2 separate regions of the Homo sapiens genome follow, and region 2 is linked to region 1. Evidence: promoter capture Hi-C in human tissues and cell types (Jung and others, 2019). All regions are on one chromosome and are shown on one strand. The core of a region is centred on a gene start or on the middle of the fragment in contact, and the rest is flanking DNA. Distances in the headings are between cores, read along the strand shown.

Region 1 (3,392 bases), core at 388-2,887:
TCTGGTCCCCCTCCATGCTTTTTGTTGTTGTTGTTGTTTACAGACAAAATCTCACTCTCTCATCCAGGAGCTCTCACTGCAGCCTTGAACTCGTGGGCTCCAGCGATCCTCCGGCCTCAGCCTCTGGAGTAGCTGGGACTACAGCAGGTGCCACCACTTCCAGCCTTCTGGCTAACTATATTTTTTTGTAGAGACAGGACGGGGGTCTCCCTGTGCTGCCCAGGCTGGCCTCCTCTGCATGTTTTTGAGAAGGTGAAGGGGAGGCTCGCTGAGTCAGGGATAGCCCTTAACCCTTCAGGACACTCAGCAAAAACTGCTTTCTGCACCTGATTCTCGTGGGGGAAGAGTGGACACAAGGATCATTTCTCACCATAGTTCAGATGAGGAAAGTGAGGCCCAGAGAAGCCCTGTAACTTGCCCACAGTCACACAGCAATTAAGGGCCCAGTCTTGCTAAGAACCCAGGTCTCTCAAACAGCAGATCCTCCACCCCAGGATCCCTGAACACAGCGGCATCGCCTCCTACCTCGGTCGGGAAGCCCACCCCCCACCCACCAGACCGAGGATTCCAAAAGGGGGCGAAGGCGGAGAGCAAAGGGGGCTGCGCCCACCCGGAGCCCCGCGGCGGCCCAGCGCGGCCCGCCCTCTCGTTGCCTTGGAGGCAGCCCCTGCGGGCACTCGCGGTCAAAGGCAGGATTTCCGTCGGGGCGGCAGCAATTCCCGGATCCAGCGGGGAGCGCGGGCCGAGACCGCCGCGGGCGCGGAGGGGGCGCCCGGAGAGGCCTGTCCCTGCCGAGGGCGGGGACTTCCCCAGGAAGCGGGGACCCACGCCTCGCGCGCCCGGCAGGAGTCCCCTGCAGCCCGGAACCTACCGCAAGGGCGGGCCGAGAGGGTCGCGGGGCCGCGGTCGCGGCCGCTAACGTTACCCTGCGGGCTGTGGGCTTCACCCCGACTTCGGCCGGCTCGGAAGAGGGGAACTTCCTGGACCCGCAATTGCACCCCAGGTTCTCCGTCCTCCAGAAGTCGTTCTCCTCAACCCCCTTCCCGCCAGCTCCCTCTCCTGTTCCCTCCAGCACCCCCACCCATTTCCCCTCTCCTGGACCCATCAGACCCGTCGGCTTCTCCCCAAAGTCCCACTCTCACGATCCCTTCAGTTTCTCCCCCAGACCGTCCTGGGGATTCCCCTTAATCCTTCTCCCCCACCTCAGCCCCCTTCCTAAACTCTTATCAGTCCCCTCCATTTTACCCACTAGACCTTTTTGGGGGTCCCTTTGGTCGGCTTCCCCCGTGCTCCCCTCCGCCCTCTCCTCCAGGTTTATCAGCCTTGCTTTTCAGGTCGCCCGTTTTCCTCCTTAGGCCTTTTCGGGCTGGGGTCCCTTTGGCTGTCACCTTGCTCATGTGTCCCCCGACCCCCAGGTTCAGGCTTCTCTTCCCGTGTACCCCCAGTCCTCTCTCCAGAGCCTCGAGGGGGAGGGCACTGCTTGACCTGCCCAGTCCCCACCCGACGCTGTCGCTTACCTGGAGCCCAATTCTGCCCGGCCCCGGGGTGAGCCAGCCGGGGCTCCAGCAGCCGCGAGTGCCGGCGTGCGGGGAGAACTGGGGTGCTGCCCGCCTCTGACCGCCGCCCCTGCTGGGCAGGGAGGAGGAAGCCGCCTCGGACTTCTCTTATTGCAGTCACGGCCGGCGGGCGGTGATGGTGGCAGGGAGACAGTCACGCCCTAGCCCCAAGCCAGCTCCCCGCAGCGAGGAGGCGCCCCCAGATCCTAGGCCCACCCGCCCCCACCTTCCTCCTCCCTGGTTTACGGGAGGTCGGCTCTGTCACCCTCCAGACCTGAGTCCCCAGCCCGGCCTTCCCAAAAGCCCCCTCCAAAAGCGCAGTTTCAGCACCCCCGAAGCACCTGCTCTTTTAGGATCATTGAATTGGAGGTTAAGAGGGGCTTTTCTCCATCACTGAGGACCAGATCGGGACTGGCCTTACTCGAGTTCTCACAGCCAGTTGACTTCAGACTGCTGTCACCAGAGCCACTGGACATGGATCACATGGACCCTGTCAGCACGCCTTCCCTTCCTCAGGGGCTGAGCACTGGGGACACAGGGCTGTTAAGGGTGGTGAGCAGCAGAAGACCCTTCCCTTAGGAAACTGCCTTTCAGAGGAGTGGGAAGGGTGTCAGCCTCCCCCAGGCACCCAAGTTTTAGAAAAACTGAGTAACTGGCTGGGGGCAGTGGCTCAGCCTGTAATCCCAGCACTTTGGGAGGTTGGGTGGGAGGATTGCTTGAGCCCAGGAATTCCAGACCAGCCTAGGCAGCATAGGGAGACACCATCTCTACCAAAAAAAATTTTTCTTAAGTTAGCTCGGTGTGGTGGTGTGCACCTGTGGTCCCAGCTACTGCAGAGGCAGAGGTGGAAGGATCCCTCGAGTCAGGCAGGTCGAGGCTGCAGTGAGCTGTGATTGAGCTACTGCACTCTACCTTGGGTGACAGAGCAAGACCCTGCCTTAAAAAAAAAAAACACAAAAAAAGAATGTGGGTTTTGTTGCAGAAAATGACTTTTTTTAAAAAAAAGAAAGAAAAGGCCGGGTGCAGCGGCTCACGCCTGTAATCCCAGCACTTTGGGAGGCCGAGGCGGGTGGATCACGATGTTAGGAGATCAAGACCGTCCTGGCTAACACAGTGAAAGCCCATCTCTACTAAAAATCAAAAAATTAGCCGGGCGTGGTGGCGGGCGCCTGTAGTCTCAGCTACTCAGGAGGCTGAGGCAGGAGAATGGTGTGAACCCGGGAGGCGGAGCTTGCAGTGAGCCGAGATGGCGCCACTGCACTCCAGCCTGGGCGACAGAGCGAGACTCCGTCTCAAGAAAAAAAAAAAAAAAAAAAAAAAGGAAGAAAAACTGAGTATCTTAGAACATGTGGAAAAAGATTTTTAAAAACAAAAAGAGAAACGGTAGCATCCTCTATCAGTTCCAGTCTCTCTGTCTGATAGGGATCCCTGACCCCTCCTCAATCTGGGGTTCAGTCCCCACTCCCACCACTGTTACTTCAGCCTTAAAGCAAGAACCCGGAATATCCCTCCTGTCCAGGAGAGGAAGAGGTGTGGTGGGGAGGGCTGTTTGGTGGAGAAGGATGTGTCTGTTGGGATGTGGTGAGAGGCAGGGAGAGTGTGCGTAAACACAGAAGTGTGTGTGTGTGTGTGTGTGTGTGAGAGAGAGAGAGAGAGAGAAAGCAATGACATGATGACTTTGCTTTTGGAATCAACAACTAGGCCATGGTGTGCAGGCAAGTGTGTTTCTTTGTATGGGCAGGGGCATGTGGGGATGTGTGTGTGCATGCGTACACATGCTCAAGTGTGGCCCAATGTGCCTGGGGTAACAGAGTGGTGGGATGGAGATAAGAATGC
Region 2 (3,392 bases), core at 319-2,818, 550 kb before region 1:
CCCCAACAACCTGGACCACTTATCTCAGGATCGTTACATGAGAAAAAAACACTTATGTGAAGCTGCTGTATTTGGGGACAGCTTTGTGACAGCACCTTAGCCTCATCCCCAACTAACAGAGACCCATTTAATAATGCTCCCGTCCAGGGATATGTCCAGTACATTAATCCTAGTTCTCAACTTCCTCCAGTCTTAACCTCTCTTTGGGTCTCTTCTAGGGTCTATGGTTTATCATTATCACTATCTCTTTGCCAATACCTGGAACTCCATAACCCCTCTTTGACTTCATCTTATTTGCCTGGCAAAACCCATCTGTCTTGGTGCCTGCACTCAAGTATCTGAAGATCACTGACAAATTCGTACAGCTGAGCTGAGCAGTGCCACTGTTCTCAAACATCAAAGGGACTCGACACGGAAAACTCTACTGTTTTTCTAACACGAACAGTTTCTTTCTTCTCCTCTTTCTCAAGGTAACTATTTCACTTCTTTTCCTCTTTCTTCAAATTTCCTATTTCCCTTTCTAGATTCATTCTCATTTGATTTGGTAACCTTGCCTGACTATTTATTGAGAGAATTAATGCCTTCAGTCACACAGACACCTTTTCATCTTTCCTCCACAAAATCTGCAAACCCATCTGCTTCTTCCTACTTTGGAGATGTTGTCCCTACTTCTCTCAAGGGTGTCTTTTTTTTCTCTCTCTTCTTTCTTCTTTTCTTCTTCTCCTCCTTCTTCTTCCCCTTCTTCTCTTTCTTCTCCTTCTTTTCCTCCTTCTCCTTCTTTTTAAGACAGGGTCTCGCTCTGTCACCAAGACTGGAGTGCAGTGGTGCAATCATGCCTCAATCTCCTGGGCGAAGCGACCCTCCCACCTCAGCCTCCTGACTAGCTGGGGCCACAGGCATGGGCCACCACCCATGCCTGGCTATGTTTTTTTGTCTTTTGTTTTTTGTAGAGACACAGTGTCTCTATGTTGCCCAGGCTTGTCTTGAACTCCTGGACTCAAGAGCTCCTCCTGCTTCAGCCTCCCAAAGTGCTGGGATTACAGATGTGAGCCACTGTGCCTGGCCTCAGAATGTCTTGATTCTGAATCTCTACCTCTTTTACTTTATCAAAGTGTTTCCTTCTCTACTGGGTCATTTCCCACCACTTTAAAAACATTTCTAATATCCACTCTCCACCCCCAACACACACACAAACAAAACAAAAGTAAACTAATGGCTGTATTAGTTTTCTATTGCTGTGTAATACATTACCACAAACTTAGTGGCTTAAAAGAACACACATTTGCCAGGCGTGGTGGCTCATGCCTGTAATCTCAGTACTTTGGGAGGCTGAGGTGGGTAGATCACCTGAGGTCAGGAGTTTGAGACCACCCTGGTCAACATGGCGAAACCGTCTCTACTAAAAATACAAAAATTAGCCAGGTGTGGTGGCGCGCACCTGTAATCCCAGCTACTTGGGAGGCTGAGGCAGGAGAATCTCTTGAACCCAGGAGGTGGAAGTTGCAGTAAGCCGAGATTGTGCCATTGCACTCCAGCCTGGGTGACAGAACGAGACTCCGTCAAAAACAAACAAACAAACAAACAAACAAACAAAAAACACATTTATTGTGTCACAGTTTCTGTGGGTCAGAAGCCCAGCATGTTTTGAGTCCTCTGCTTAGCATCTTACCAGGCTGAAATCAAGGAACTAGCCCAGACTGTGACCCCAGCTGGGGCTCAGGGTCATCTTCCAAGCTTATTGGTTGTTGCAGAATTCAGTTTCCTGCAATTGGAGGACTGAGGTTTCTACTTTCTTGCTGGCTGCCAACAGGGGCCATTCGTAGCTCCTAGAGGCCACCAGTTGCTCACTGACATGTGACCCCCTTCACAAGAGGACAGTTTGCTCCTTCAAGGCCAGCAGTAAAGCGCTCTGTAAAAGGCTCACCTGATTAGGTCAGGCCCACCAAGATGAGTTTCTTCTGATTAATTCAAAGTCAACTGATTAGGGGCCTTAATTATATTTGCAATATTCACCTTTGCTATATAATGTAACCTAATCACAGCAATATCCCACCATACAGGTTCTGCCTGTATACCGTCAAGGGGAGGGGATTATACATGTCTTGTACAACAAAAGGCAGGAATCTTGGAGGCCATCTTACAATTCTGCCAACCACAACACACACCATACCACACACACATCACACACCACATACACCTCACACACCACCCCCACACACCACAAAGATCACACACACCACACCACACACACACCACATACCACACAGCCCACACACTGCACCACACATACACACCACACACATACCACATACCCCACATACCACACACACAGACACCACACACACCACATCCATACACCACACCACACACACTACACACCACACATCCCACATACCACACACACCACACACTACACACATACACACACCCCACACACCCCATACACACCCTGCACACCACACACATCACACACAGAGACACCGCCTATCCCACACACACCACACACCCCACATATCACACCACACACACCACATCCACACACACCACACACACACACAGCATACACAACACCCATAGACACCACACACCACACACACACCTCACGTACCAAACACCACACACACAACCACACACCACACACCAAACACACACCCCACACATACCTCACACCACAGACACACACCACCCCCCGCCACACAACACACACACACACACACACACACACACACACACACACACACACACAGCAGGTGCTCTGGACCTATCTGTCAAATTGCATGGGGCAGCTGAGCCTCAGTTTTCTTTGAGAGTCTCACTCTTGTCACCCAGACTGGAGTGCAGTGGCACGACCTTGGCTCACCGCAACCTCCGCCTCCTGGGTTCAAGCAATTCTCCTGCCTCAGCCTCTTGAGTAGGTGGGATTACAGGCATGCGCCCCAGCTAATTTTTGTATTTTTAGTAAAGACAGGTTTCACCATGTTGGCCAAGCTGGTCTCAAACTCCTGACCTCAAGTGATCTGCCTGCCTCGGCCTCCCAAAGTGCTGGGATTACAGGTGTGAGTCACTGCACCCAGCCCAGTTTTCTTATCTGTAAAATGGGTGTTGGGTCATATGTTCCTCCTGCCAGTCCAGGTGCCCTCTTCACCTTTCTCCATTCTGCGCTGGGCCTAGAGGCTGACCTCTCCCCAGGCTCCAGCTCTCACCAGATTCCAGGACCTTCCCTGCTCCCCGGCTGGTAAGAGCTTCCTGCTGCTGCAGACCCTTCAGGCTTCACCAGCCTTTCTTGGTTCCTTTAACTCTGCCCAGCACTTTGTAAGAGTCCCTTCATCAAACCCACAATACCCCTTTGAATGTGCCATCTGTTTCCACCCAGGGCCCTGATTGCTGCAATA

The links. The method cuts DNA at HindIII sites, captures the fragments that hold promoters and counts their contacts. A contact is called where the count stands out against the background at its distance.
Region 2: a fragment that was not itself captured here is called in contact with the fragment with the promoter of FGR in region 1 in 1 of the 25 tissues and cell types used here (neural progenitor cells).

Annotation. Positions count from the first base shown.
Region 1 is chr1:27,633,548-27,636,939 of GRCh38, forward strand. FGR (FGR proto-oncogene, Src family tyrosine kinase) reads right to left here and starts at 1,638. Exons shown (of 13, transcript NM_005248.3): 1 at 1,518-1,638. RefSeq lists a silencer at 714-763. The HindIII fragment of the contact is 29,896 bases long and covers 1-3,392 here.
Region 2 is chr1:27,084,331-27,087,722 of GRCh38, forward strand. No RefSeq gene overlaps it. Among named protein-coding and RNA genes, the nearest start is that of SLC9A1, 69 kb to the right of the region's middle. The HindIII fragment of the contact is 7,329 bases long and covers 1-3,392 here.